4 separate regions of the Homo sapiens genome follow, and all the other regions are linked to region 3. Evidence: promoter capture Hi-C in human tissues and cell types (Jung and others, 2019). All regions are on one chromosome and are shown on one strand. The core of a region is centred on a gene start or on the middle of the fragment in contact, and the rest is flanking DNA. Distances in the headings are between cores, read along the strand shown. Region 1 has its middle 18 kb from the start of PDIK1L. Region 2 overlaps ARID1A (AT-rich interaction domain 1A). Region 3 holds the start of DHDDS (dehydrodolichyl diphosphate synthase subunit). Region 4 overlaps GPN2 (GPN-loop GTPase 2).

Region 1 (3,278 bases), core at 690-3,189, 300 kb before region 3:
CAACAGTCTCCCTGAGTTGAGGAGACAGAATTTAGGGTTCAGGGAGCACAAGCCAGCTAGGATTCATGGGGCAGAGTATCAGAGAGAGAGAGAGAGACAGATGGTAACAAAGAATTCCAGACCTTGTTGTTTATTTTTTTTCTTTTCTTTTTTGTCCTGTTTTTTATTTGTCGGTGAGAGTTCCAGACCTTTGCAGAAAGTTTTTTTCAAGACATCAGCTGAGGCAGGGCCAGGTAACTCACATCTGTAATCCCAGTACTTTAAGAGGCCAAGCCAGAATGATCACTTGAGCCCAAGAGTTGGAGACCAGCCTAGGCAACATGGTGAAACCCTGTCTCTACAAAAAATAAAATAAAATTATCCAGGTGTGATGGTGTTTGCCTATAGTCCCAGCTACTTGGAGGCTGAGTTGGGAGAATCACCTGAACCCAGGAAAGTCAAGGCTGCAGTGAGCTGGAATCACCACGCTGCACTCCACCCTGGGCGGCAGAGCAAGACCTGCCTTAAAGAAAACATACACACTCACACACACACTCTCTCTCTCTCTCTCTCTCACACACACACACACACTCACACACTCACATTCACACACACAGTATCAGCTAAGTACTAATCAGTCATGCTTATGAAGAAACTATCAGACCTGAATGCAGGAAAGATCCCCTGAAAGGATTAGGCAGAACAATCCTGGAGCTCACACAGGACCAAGAATAATTGATATTTCCACCAGCCAGAACAGAAAGACCTTCTTCCAATATACAGAGCATCACAGAAGAGTATTGTCTCAGTAGTGAGGCCAAGGCTAACAGCTATTCTGGACCTGTCTATCCAAGCTTAAAAGTAAGTCTTGAAAGGTACACAGACAAAATTATAGCAAATTTGATTTAAAGATCTATATTGGCTTTTCTTTGTGATTCTAGAAAAAGGCAACACCTTATTCTATAAAATACAGTGAGTATTCCGATAAGCCAAGCAGAAAAGTATGGTTTTATAGACAGAAAAGGCCTGAGAAAAGCAGAAACAGAGAACAGAAAATTGTCTGGTTGTTTCAAAGTTACTTTCCTTATAGAGTTAAAACAGACACAGGCGTAGTGGGTTGCTGCGCCCTCCCAGGCGGTCCCAACAACTAGTGGACCAGAGCCCCCAGGGGACACAGCCTAAGTCCCTGCCCATCAGATCATCTGGAACTTCTGCCCAGAGAGGATCTGGAACTTCTGCCCAGAGAGGAGAGAGCGACTGGAAATTCTCTCAGTCAAGGTCCAAACCTAAAAGAATCACTGGCACGCCCAGCAGGACTAAGACCAATTTTTAATGAAATGTTTTCTGTGTTTGGGGTGCATAACTATATTTCTTTATAACAAAATTACTTAAATGTTTTGATTTTTTATTCCTCATATGCATGGCCTGTGACAGACCAGGGGACTTGTAAGCTCACAGTCCATGAGGTCAGAAGCTGACATCCTAAATGTCTATTTATAATGAATTTAAACAGACCAAAAACTCTGCTATGAAACTCGGAAAGACAAGCAATTTAGCAAAAATGAACCAGTCTCTAAATAAATAAAAAGATTAAAATTTAAAAATTAAAAACAACAACAACAACAAAAACAGAGGGAACTTCATTTTCATGCCAGCTCAGGTAAACTGGGCCCCTTTTGATTGGTTGCTGCGAATCTCCTGGGGGTATTTTTTTGGTAGCGGGGTGGGGGGTGGACTGGCCTGTTTCAGAGTTCAGTTTAATTATGTGGCACCCAGCATGAGTGACTCCATTCTGATTTGGCTCGGTCTGCTAGTGCTAGTGTACGAGGCTAGTCCAAAATAATGGTCTCCTATACATTTTATTTAACAAAATACATTTTTTTCTAAGTAACATAATGTGCTAGAACAAAGCTCAAAAATACTTGAGTCCAAAAATTCCACTTCTCAACAATATAAAATTCAAAATGTCTGCCAGCCAATTAAAAATATTAGAAATGGGCCAGGTACAGTGGCTCATGCCTGTGATCCTAGCACTTCGGAAGGCCAAGGCAAGAGGATTGCTTAAGTCCAGAAGTTCAAGACCAGCCTGGGCAACATAATGAGACCTCATCTTTACCGGGAAAAAAAAAAAAAGGAATTAGCTGGGGGTTCTGGTGTGGTGGCACATGCCTGTAGTCCCAGCTATTCAGGAGGCTGAGGCGGGAGGAGCACTTGAGCCCAGGAGTTGGAGGCTGCAGTGAGCCGAGATCGCACCACTGCACTCCAGCCTGGAGACAAAGCAAAACCCCAACTCAAAAAAAAAAAAAAAAAATTAGGACTTCTAATTTCTGGTTTGGCACAAAAGGAGCCTAAAAGTCACCACTCCATCCTAACAACAATTAAAAAGCTGAACACATGGAAAAATCAACCACTCTTCTTAGATATGTCAGAGCAGTGAGGTCACAGGGCAAACTGCTGCCCCTGTAATTGGAGAGATGCATTGGTAGATACAGAATATCACAATTTACTAGTGTGGAAAAGGTGCAGGGGTAGGAAAACCTAAACTGTAATTGATGAATTGCTTAGTATGGTCAACTCTGAGAGTTAAAAAGCCCAGGGGGACCCAATCACAGGAGGCTCCCCACACTATTACCTCCAGGAGCTCTGCCAGATCCTCACAGGTGCTCATTCTTCTGCTAACGGGAGGGGGAAAGGAACCATTTTGAAACCTGCCTGAACATTCTGTTCTTAACAAGGACAACCCTCAGGAGCAACTATTTTACCACAGCCTCATCTGTTGTGGTTTTATCAGCTGACCCTAACCTATCTGAGGGTATTCCAGCCCCCTCTAGCCATCCTGACCACCTAAGGGAACTTCACCAAGAGAAGCACTGGTGAAGTTCACAGTCCAAGGGCACAGGCTCACCTATGAAAAGCCCATGACCAAATCATAGGATTATAGAACACCCACCATCCCCAAATGTTACTACATTACTAAAGGCCTATTTATGGCAGTTCCTTTAGCCAGTACATTCCATCCACCTTTCACAAAAAAGTACAAGGGATACTAAAAAGCAAAAAATACAATTTGAAAAGTCTGAACAATCATCAGAATCTGAGTCAGTTATGGCAAGAATCCTGGAACTATCAGGCCAGGGATTTTTTTTTAAATTGTGATTAATATGCTAAGGACTTCAATGGAAAAAGTAGACAATATGCACACACAGATGGATAATGTAAGCAGAGAAATGGAAATTCTAAGGGTCAAAAAGATGCTAGAAATCAAAAACTCTGTAATAGAGATGAAGAATGCTTTTGAT
Region 2 (3,196 bases), core at 199-2,698, 350 kb after region 3:
CCTTCCACCTCCCCTCCCTCCATCACCTCACGCCTTTCTGTTCCTTGTCCTCACCTTACTCCCCTCAGGACCCTACCCCACCCTCTTTGAAAAGACAAAGCTCTGCCTACATAGAAGACTTTTTTTATTTTAACCAAAGTTACTGTTGTTTACAGTGAGTTTGGGGAAAAAAAATAAAATAAAAATGGCTTTCCCAGTCCTTGCATCAACGGGATGCCACATTTCATAACTGTTTTTAATGGTAAAAAAAAAAAAAAAAAATACAAAAAAAAATTCTGAAGGACAAAAAAGGTGACTGCTGAACTGTGTGTGGTTTATTGTTGTACATTCACAATCTTGCAGGAGCCAAGAAGTTCGCAGTTGTGAACAGACCCTGTTCACTGGAGAGGCCTGTGCAGTAGAGTGTAGACCCTTTCATGTACTGTACTGTACACCTGATACTGTAAACATACTGTAATAATAATGTCTCACATGGAAACAGAAAACGCTGGGTCAGCAGCAAGCTGTAGTTTTTAAAAATGTTTTTAGTTAAACGTTGAGGAGAAAAAAAAAAAAGGCTTTTCCCCCAAAGTATCATGTGTGAACCTACAACACCCTGACCTCTTTCTCTCCTCCTTGATTGTATGAATAACCCTGAGATCACCTCTTAGAACTGGTTTTAACCTTTAGCTGCAGCGGCTACGCTGCCACGTGTGTATATATATGACGTTGTACATTGCACATACCCTTGGATCCCCACAGTTTGGTCCTCCTCCCAGCTACCCCTTTATAGTATGACGAGTTAACAAGTTGGTGACCTGCACAAAGCGAGACACAGCTATTTAATCTCTTGCCAGATATCGCCCCTCTTGGTGCGATGCTGTACAGGTCTCTGTAAAAAGTCCTTGCTGTCTCAGCAGCCAATCAACTTATAGTTTATTTTTTTCTGGGTTTTTGTTTTGTTTTGTTTTCTTTCTAATCGAGGTGTGAAAAAGTTCTAGGTTCAGTTGAAGTTCTGATGAAGAAACACAATTGAGATTTTTTCAGTGATAAAATCTGCATATTTGTATTTCAACAATGTAGCTAAAACTTGATGTAAATTCCTCCTTTTTTTCCTTTTTTGGCTTAATGAATATCATTTATTCAGTATGAAATCTTTATACTATATGTTCCACGTGTTAAGAATAAATGTACATTAAATCTTGGTAAGACTTTTGTGAAGCTTTTTATTGTTTTCAAACTAAAACTTGACCTTTTGTCGGGGGGCAGGGGGATAGTCCTGTTTTTGCAAACCTCCCTTAGTGTGAGATCTCCCCTAAATAGTGGCATTCCTGGACCCTGTCATTTATTTACTATATTCCAAAATAAGACAACCATTTATCTGGAGGCAATCTCCAACTTAATCACTTATAATATCTCTGGACTGGCTCTTTTCCCTGACTCCAGACTAGAGCATTCAGCCACCTTTCTTGTCATCCCTGCTTGGAAGTTTACTTTGAACATGCCAAAGCTAAAATGTCCTGTCTTCCCCCACTAGAAACCTGCTTCTCCCATAGTTTTGGTTTTTTTGTTTGTGTTTTCCTTTTAGTAAATGGCAACTCCATTCTATCACTTGGCTAAAAAAATCCTTGACTTCTTTCACTTCCACATCCAATCTGTTAGCACTCTTCATAAAATAATCCTCAATCCCACACTACTGTAGTTCAAGATACTGTCATATCTTGGATTCTTGAAATACCTCCAAATTGGCCTCCCTGCTTCTGCTTTGCCTGGTTGAACCTATTCTCAACAGAGCAACCAAAAGGACCCCTATAAAAGGTAAGTCAGATCAAACGCCTTCAGTGCTTCTGACTCAGTAAGTAAAAATCCAGACTCTTAAAAAGTGGCCTACAAGGCCCTGAGTTATCTAGCTTACCTCTACCTTTCCTGCACCATCTGTCTTGCCCGTTGCTCACCCCACTGTATAGAGATGTTTCCACCTTGGAGTCTTTGTACTTTATACTCTCTCACCAAATAACTGCATGGCTCAAGTCCTCGACTGCTTCAAGTCTTTGTCCAAATATATAAGTAAGGCTTTTCATGGTCACCTTACTTAGAATAGCAATCTCTGCCCCCCACTATGTTTCCCTTGTCTGCCTTATTTTTCCTGTGGCACTTGTTACTGTCTGGCCTGTTGTGTGTTGTACTTACCTGTCACCTTCCACTGAAATGTAAACTGAGGGTGGTGGGAGGGGTGTTTTGTTCACTGCTGCATCCTGGTGCTAACACATAGACTGGCACATAGCATCTACTTAAGTAGTAGTTGAATGATACTGTCGATGTTGGCTAGATGCAGTTGCTTTTATGAGGCTAATGTCACAATATATAGTTTCTCTGTTCACCCCCTTCCTTAGGGAAACAATAGAGAAGCCTCAAGTTCCTCAGGAGAAATCAGAAGCAGAAAGAGAAAAAATGCTATCATTGTGGACACTTAGAAGTGAAATTTGAAACAAGAAACAACAGTTTTCTATTGTGTACCTACTTATATTCTGGACATAGCACATCACAATCCTACAACAATCCTGTGCCTGTGAAGTCAGTATGTGGCTCCCATTTTACAGTTGAAGAAAGAGGCTAAGAAAAGTGAAAGGCTTTTTAAGTTCATACACCAAGCAAGTTCCACCTGACTCCAAGGATCATGCTTTTCTTAATATACCACACTACCTCCTTTCTGGATGAGAACCCAACCCAGGAGTAAGGGATCTAGCTGTGGAGCTCAGCAAGCAAGATTTGTTTTTATTGTCTTTAGCACGAGGTAAAATTGTCCTCAGAATTTCAATCAAGTGTTCATCAGACTAAGTGTGGCTGTTAATATTTGGGTCAGGAACAGGATTTGAATAATTAGTATTTCTCAATTGAGAGAGGAAAACCTTTGTCAACCAAGATGCGTTCCTAGGATTCTTCTAGAAAAAGGTAAATGGGAAGCTTTTCATATCTACAATTTTGGTAAGCAATATTGCTAATGGCTATTTTTGTTCTAGGCCTCGAGCTCCGTTTGCTAGTCTAGAAATTGCATATCTGGGCTGTGTGTGGAGCATTACCTAGGAGTTCGGTTTCCTGGGTTCCTTTCATCTGCTCTCCTGCAATGCAGGGAGAGCCTAGCCTGGTCTCCAGTTTCTGACTGGAGTTACCATGGCCAAGAGAACTGCTGGCCAGTGAGCTGTGAGTAATTTGCTTT
Region 3 (3,340 bases), core at 293-2,792:
TTCCACTCAAAACATAATACTACATAAAGTTGTATTATGCTTTGCAAGAAATACTGGTTGTGGCCGGGCGCGGTGGCTCACGCCTGTAATTCCAGCACTTTGGAAGGTCTAGGCAGGCAGATAACGAGGTCAAGAGATCAAAACCATCCTGGCCAAAATGGTGAAACCCTGTCTCTACTAAAAATACAAAAATTAGCCAGGCTTGGTGGCACGCGCCTGTAGTCCCAGCTACTCAGGAGGATGAAGCAGGAGAAACGCTTGAACCCGGGAGGCGGAGGCTGCAGTGAGCCGAGATCGCGCCACTGCACTCCAGCCTGGGCGACATAGCCAGACTCCGTCTCTAAATAAATAAATAAATAAATAAATAAATAAAAATAATACTGGTTGTATAAGAATCTGTAAAGAATTTTTTCCTCCTCTTTCAATTTTGAGAAAATTGAACTACAAATTTGTTTTGTGAGCCTAGAATTCTTGCAACCCTTTTTTTCGTAAAGGTTCAGTAGAGCTAATGCCCTTAACTTTTCTACCAGGGTTAATTTCTGTTATTTTCATTTATGTACTGCCAAAGCGAGCACCTTTCTGTTATTTTAGAAGTCATGCTTTTTTTTTTTTTCTTTTTTCAGACAGAGTTTCGCTCCTGTTGCCCAGGCTGGAGTGCAGTGGCCTGATCTTGGCTCACCGCAACCTCCGCCTCCCGGGTTCAAGCGATTCTCTTGCCTCACCCTCCCGAGTAACTGGGATAACAGGCGCCCGCCACCACGCCCGGCTCATTTTCTGTATTTTTAGTACAGACGGGGTTTCACGATGTTGGTCAGGCTGGTCTCAAACTCCTGACCTCAGGTGATCCGTTCGCCTCGGCCTCCCAAAGTGCTGGGATTACAGGCGTGAGCCACCGCGCCTGGCCTAGAAGTCATTCTTATGGCAGAAATCTTTCTGGCCTTACCCCTTCTCTTGAGTTCGTTGGGATAGGTCTTGGGAATCCACAAATCCTAAAATATGCGTGCCTTAAGTCGGCACAAAATAGATTAATATTCTGCGCGTCTGTAAGATTGGCTGCGGCTAGAAACTCCTTCCCAGACGATTAAATCCACTAAATAAAATACGAAACGGTAACGAGATAATTTTTAAGAGTATGCACCAGTGCTCTAATGAAGCCCGGTTCTGCGGCATTCCAAGGTAAGGACGCTGCCTTACCCAGTCTCTCAGCAGTCCTAAGCTGCCTTCGACGGCCGAGAAGCGCCTCGATTCTTGCCCCTGGCTCATTTCCCTGGCGCGTTTTCCAGACGCCTCCGCTCCCAACGCTGGGCTCAACCCTGTCTTCCCCAGCTGGTCTCCCAGCACGTGGCCTGGAGCCCAGCCTCCCGCCCCGCTCGGTCACGTGAGCCTGGCTCTCACCCGCGCCGGCTTCCACACCCCGCGGGACTGAGAACCGCCCTCCCACTAGCTCGCAGGCGCAGGCGCAGGGCAGGGTCCCCTCAGTTTGGGTGACGGAAGGGGCGTGTCGCAGCGCCCAAAGATGACGTGTTCTGCCAGCGCCACGTCATGAGGAAGTGCCGGCCCACTGAAGCCGTGGGGACGCGCCCAGCGGAGCTAATCAGGTGCCACTGAACTGAAGGGGTGAACTAGAGGAGAAGAGGGTGACTGGGCGGGGAGCAGCTGCGGGAGAAGCAAAGGGACGACTGAGGGAATAATCAGGAGACCACTGAGGCGTGAAGTACTAGGCGTGCGATAACTGAAGGAGTTAGTAACTGGGAGCACAGAGTTGGAAACAGCTTAGGGGAAGATGGAGAAGGAAGAAACGGGGAATGATCAAGATGTGGGCACCATGATGTGGCAGGAAACCGACTTAGATGTTCAGAAGAAGTCAGTGCAGATACGGAGGAAATGGGAATGGGAAGAAGTCTGCAAAGCCAGGAGAACCGAGGAAAGGCTTTTGCCTCCAGAGGTCACATTGCGTTATAAAACTCTGGGTGGTAAAAGATTATAGGCTTAGACCAGTGTCTTTGGATTCTAATGCTGGCTGCTCTCCATAGTCCATCTGATTCCCCAGAAGTCAGTTATAGCTCTTCGCAAACCTTGGTGACTTCTTATTTTCTTTCTTGTTTATCCAAGATTACCTGGCTGGTGTTTGCTTGTTCTGGAGTGATCTTCTGACTGGAAAAGAACTATGTCATGGATCAAGGAAGGAGAGCTGTCACTTTGGGAGCGGTTCTGTGCCAACATCATAAAGGTGAGCAATGGCCCAGAGCACCGGTTGGCCTTCTGGTCAGTTGGATAATCTTATATAAAAACCTGTTATTAAAGTTGATGATGTTAAGTGCAATTCATGATGTTAAGTGGAATTTAGCAAGGAAACCAAAGAGTCTTAGAATGGTAACTTCCAGGTCTACATTTCTGGTAGACTTTTGTCCTAACTCTGATATTTTCTGGAAGCCCAGGCCTCTTAATGTCACTGGGCAGCCTAGACTGCTAAGTATTCTTTATAGAGAACTGAAATTTGTTTCCCTGGAACATTGATCCATTGTTCCATGTACTGTCTTCTTGATTTAAATAGGTTAATCTTTGATATATTCTTTGATCTGTCAGTAGAGCTGGGCCCGGTCACTCACGCCTGTAATCCCAGCAATTTGGGAGGCTGAGGTGGGCAGATTGTTTGAGCTCAGGAGTTGAGACCAGCCTGGGCAACATGGCAAAACCCCGATTCTCCAAAAAATTAAAAAAATAGCAGGGCTTGGTGGTGTGCACCTGTAGTCCCAGCTACTCGGAAGGCTGAAGTGGGAGAATTTCTTGAGCCCAGGTCAAAGCTGCAGTGAGTCATGATTGTGCCACCACACTCCAGCCTGGGTGACAGAACGGGACTGTCTCAAAAAAAAGAGTTCAGAACAAGACTCTGTCTCAAAAAAAAAAAAAAAAAAAGAGTTTGGGCTCTAGACGCAGACAAACATGGGTGAAATTCCTGTTCTTTTTTTTATTTTGAGATGGAGTCTCGCTCTGTCGCCCAGGCTGGAGTGCAATGGCGCAATCTTGGCTTACTGCAACCTTCATCTGCCAAGTTCAAGCAATTCTCTTGCCTTAGCCTCCCAAGTAGCTGGGGTTACAGGCATATGCTACCACACATGGCTAATTTTTATATTTTTAGTAGAGATGGGATTCTCATATTGGCCAGGCTGGTCTCGAACTCCTGACCTCAGGTGATCCACCTATCTCAGCCTCCCAAAGTGCTGGGATTATAGGACTGAGCCACTGCACCTGGCCTGAAAGTCCAGTTCTATCATTTAGTAATCATGTGACTTTAACAACTGTAGAATTATCATGAGAATTTATGAGACATTAATATAAA
Region 4 (3,424 bases), core at 370-2,869, 450 kb after region 3:
AGGTTGCAGTGAGCTGAGATTGCACCATTGCACTCCAACTGGGGCAACAAGATTGACGGTCCGTCTCAAAAAAAAAAAAAAAAAAGGGCCAGGTGTGGTGGAGCATGCCTGTAATCCCAGCTACTTAGGAGGCTGAGGGAGGAGAATCACTTGAACCCTGGAGTTGGAGATTGCATTCCAGCCTGGGCAACAACAGCAAAAGAAAGTCCATCTTAAATTTAAAAAAAAAATTGCTCCTCCCCTCTTTTGCTGAGCACATGCAGTCCAATTGGCCTACATTAACTGCAGGTGTGACGCAGCTCCTTAGTACCTTCATCAGGGACTGCACACTCTACTGCCATCATTTATAAGTCATTCCTCCAACCCCGACCCCATGAGCTTTGTTTCCCACATATGGCTCGAGAAACATCAGTAAGTGTTGGCTGGAATTATTTTCCTCTATACCCTAAGACTCCTGAGTCCCCCTTGTCTCCAGCATGCTGCATAGATGCTGAATCTGTGAGAGCATCAGCCTAGAGGGCCTGGACTTTTCTGTCCTGCTTCACGCATGGCCTCTGTGACCTGATGGACACCTACCCATGACCTTGGCTCCAGCCTCATTAGTCACTAACCAAGCTCCAAAAGTCTGGCTGCCTCTTGGACAGCTCTGGATGTCCCATGGACCCCTGAACACAGCACATCTGCCAGCTCTTGTCCCTTTCATCCATGTGACAAACCTGCTCCCTCCTCCTTTTCCTGCCTCAGTGATTAGTACAACCACCCACCGTCTAAGCCAGAGATCTGGGAAGCTAAGTTCTACTCCAGCTCCATCTATCCCATTCAGTCACTGACTCTTACAGTCTATCTCCTTAGTATTTTTCCATTCTACACCTTTCTTTCTATTCTCACTACAAATCTTTCAACCCTTCTCACCTAGCAAGACTGTAAAACTCTTTTGCCCCCAATCACGTCCCTTAAATGCATTTTCCACAATTGCAGGGGCTTTTCTAAAATGTACATCTGATTGTGTCACACCCTGTTCAACAGTACTGCTTGAATACTTGCTCCCACTGCCCACCCATGAACTGAAGTCCACATTCCTTAGTAGGGCACTCAGGCCCCTCCCTCGGCAGCCCTGCCTGTACCCCTGCAACGCCCTTTCCTCTTCACATGCAACACACCAGGAACTGGACTCCTGCATCTCTCCCGAATGACTAATGCCCTCTCATTTCTGGGCCTCTGTATTTGTTACTCCTATTGATCAATATCCTCTCTTGTCCTCAGTACAACCAACTCTGAAGCCAAGGGACCACCTTTGCACATGAGAGACAGTCATCAGGAAGCCCAACTGATCAATATGAAATCAGTCATCCACGGCCGGGCGCAGTGGCTCATGCCTGTAATCCCAGCACTTTGGGAGGCTGAGGCAGGTGGATCACCTGAGGTCAAGAGTTCCAGACCAGCCTGGCCAACATGGTGAAACCCCGTCTCTACTAAAAATATAAAAACTAACTGGGCACAGTGGCGCACACTAATACCAGCTACTTGGGAGGCTGAGGCAGGAGAATTGCTTGAATATGGGAGGCAGAGGTTACACAGAGCCAAGATTGCGCCATTGTGCGATCCAGCCTGGGCAACAAGAGCGAAACTCCCTTTCAAAAAAAAAAAAGAAAAAAGAAATTGGGTGGATCACAAGGTCAGGAGATCAAGACCATCCTGGCCAACACAGTGAAACCCCGTCTCTACTAAAAATACAAAAAATTAGCTGGGCGTGGTGGTGGGTGGCTGTAGTCCCAGCTACTCAGGAGGCTGGGGCAGGAGAGTGGCGTGAACCCGGGAGGCAGAGCTTGCAGTGAGCTGAGATCGTGCCACTGCACTCCAGCCTGGGCGACAGAGCAAGACTCCATCTCAAAAAAAAAAAAAAAAAAAGAAATTGGTCATCCACAAGGTTGATGACTGCACCTCCTGTGGCCATTCTTGAGTCCCATGTCTCACCCTCTCTGCTATGGCCAGGAAGCTGGCAAGGATACGAAGAGAAATGGAAGTCGGCTCCCATTGCGGCAGACATCATGGCTTCCAAGCTTCGCTGCTCTTGGGCTCTGAAACAGTATCCATTGGCTTTATCCACAGCCTGCAGGACTCGCTGGATGCTCTCCTTGTCCTGAGCAGGGAGGAGAGAAACAGTTCTGTGAGTGAAACAGAAGTATGTAAAACTGCTTGCAATCTCTAAATACACCTTCCTCCATCTTGCCTCTGTACCTGTAGCTTTCTTGGCCTGGAGTAGTTCTACATGTCCCCAAAGGCTGGATAAATCTCATGTTTCCTGACCACCAACTCACTCAGATTAGAACAGATAAGCTCCCCTATGCATATCCACAGTCCCCTGGGTTTACACCTATTGTACATGGTATCCCTGCCATGTAATAAACGCCTATTAACTCACCTGCCTCCCCTACTCAACTAAACACCCCTTAGGGCCAGGTCATCTGTCGCAGTATTCCCAGTGCCTGGCACAGTACTTCTCTTAAGTAGACATCCAATGAATATGCATGTTTTAAATCTATAACTGGGCCAGGCACGGTGGTTCACACCTGTAAAGCCCAGCACTTTGGGAGGCCAAGGCAGGTAGATCACTTAAGGTCAGGAGTTCAAGAGCAGCCTGGCCAACATGGTGAAACCCTGTCTCTACTGAAAATACAAAAATTAGTTGGGCATGGTGATGGATGCCTGTAATCCCAGTTACTTGGGAAGCTGAGGCAGGAGAATCGGTTGAACCCAGGAGGCAGAGGTTGCAGTGAGCCAAGATAACGCACTGCACTCCAGCCTGGGTGACAGAGTGAGACTCCGTCACAAAAAACAAAACAAAACAAAAAAAAACTATAACTGTTTCCTCATCCACATACAGTGATAAGAACAGTCCATATATCACATGGTGGGAAGGACAAAGCAAAATTATGTATGTGTAGTCCTTAGCACAGTGCCCAGCACAGAAAGCCATAAATAAGAGGTAATTGTTGTGATTGATATTATAGAGTTCATCTCCTCATATCAGAAGAGTGTGGCATTAGAAGGGAGGAGACAAGTTAGCTCAAGTCCACCCACTGCAGAAAGGAATCTAACATGCACCTGCGTCTCCCAGGTTATCTCTGCAGGGTAAAGGTGAGAGGCACAGGGGTTGGGTACCACTTTGCAAAGTCAACAGACAGTTGCCCAGTTGAAAGGGCTTAAGAGACTTGTCCCTGGTCCTGGTGAACTTTCTTGCTGATGACTTTCTGAACTCACCCATTTTCACAGAGGACAGAACATGTGAAGAGAGGATCCAGCAACACAAAATAGACAGGGCAAAAGTTTGGTCCACTCTCTTTACTGGAATTCTGCCCCTACAGCAGCCCCTGGTCCTGAAACTAAGGTTACTCTCAGTGATACTCAACCCAGGGCAAAGACC

What was found. The method cuts DNA at HindIII sites, captures the fragments that hold promoters and counts their contacts. A contact is called where the count stands out against the background at its distance.
Region 1: a contact is called between a fragment that was not itself captured here and the fragment with the promoter of DHDDS in region 3, in 1 of the 25 tissues and cell types used here (neural progenitor cells).
Region 2: a contact is called between a fragment that was not itself captured here and the fragment with the promoter of DHDDS in region 3, in 1 of the 25 tissues and cell types used here (hippocampus).
Region 4: a contact is called between a fragment that was not itself captured here and the fragment with the promoter of DHDDS in region 3, in 2 of the 25 tissues and cell types used here (dorsolateral prefrontal cortex and spleen).

Annotation. Positions count from the first base shown.
Region 1 is chr1:26,128,234-26,131,511 of GRCh38, forward strand. No RefSeq gene overlaps it. Among named protein-coding and RNA genes, the nearest start is that of PDIK1L, 18 kb to the left of the region's middle. RefSeq lists a silencer at 425-719. The HindIII fragment of the contact is 7,689 bases long and covers 1-3,278 here.
Region 2 is chr1:26,780,917-26,784,112 of GRCh38, forward strand. It overlaps ARID1A (AT-rich interaction domain 1A), which reads left to right. Exons shown (of 20, transcript NM_006015.6): 20 at 1-1,188. Among named protein-coding and RNA genes, the nearest start is that of PIGV, 5.4 kb to the right of the region's middle. The HindIII fragment of the contact is 6,774 bases long and covers 1-3,196 here.
Region 3 is chr1:26,430,779-26,434,118 of GRCh38, forward strand. It overlaps DHDDS (dehydrodolichyl diphosphate synthase subunit), which reads left to right and starts at 1,543. Exons shown (of 9, transcript NM_205861.3): 1 at 1,543-1,598; 2 at 2,113-2,230. The coding sequence starts at 2,168. It overlaps LOC124903883 (a long non-coding RNA gene), which reads right to left and starts at 1,459. Exons shown (of 2, transcript XR_007065557.1): 1 at 1,195-1,459; 2 at 1-340. RefSeq lists enhancers at 762-1,298, 1,083-1,142, 1,213-1,272, 1,299-1,835, 1,373-1,862. The HindIII fragment of the contact is 9,291 bases long and covers 1-3,340 here.
Region 4 is chr1:26,882,151-26,885,574 of GRCh38, forward strand. GPN2 (GPN-loop GTPase 2) reads right to left here. Exons shown (of 5, transcript NM_018066.4): 4 at 2,010-2,140. Among named protein-coding and RNA genes, the nearest start is that of GPN2, 6.4 kb to the right of the region's middle. The HindIII fragment of the contact is 7,583 bases long and covers 1-3,424 here.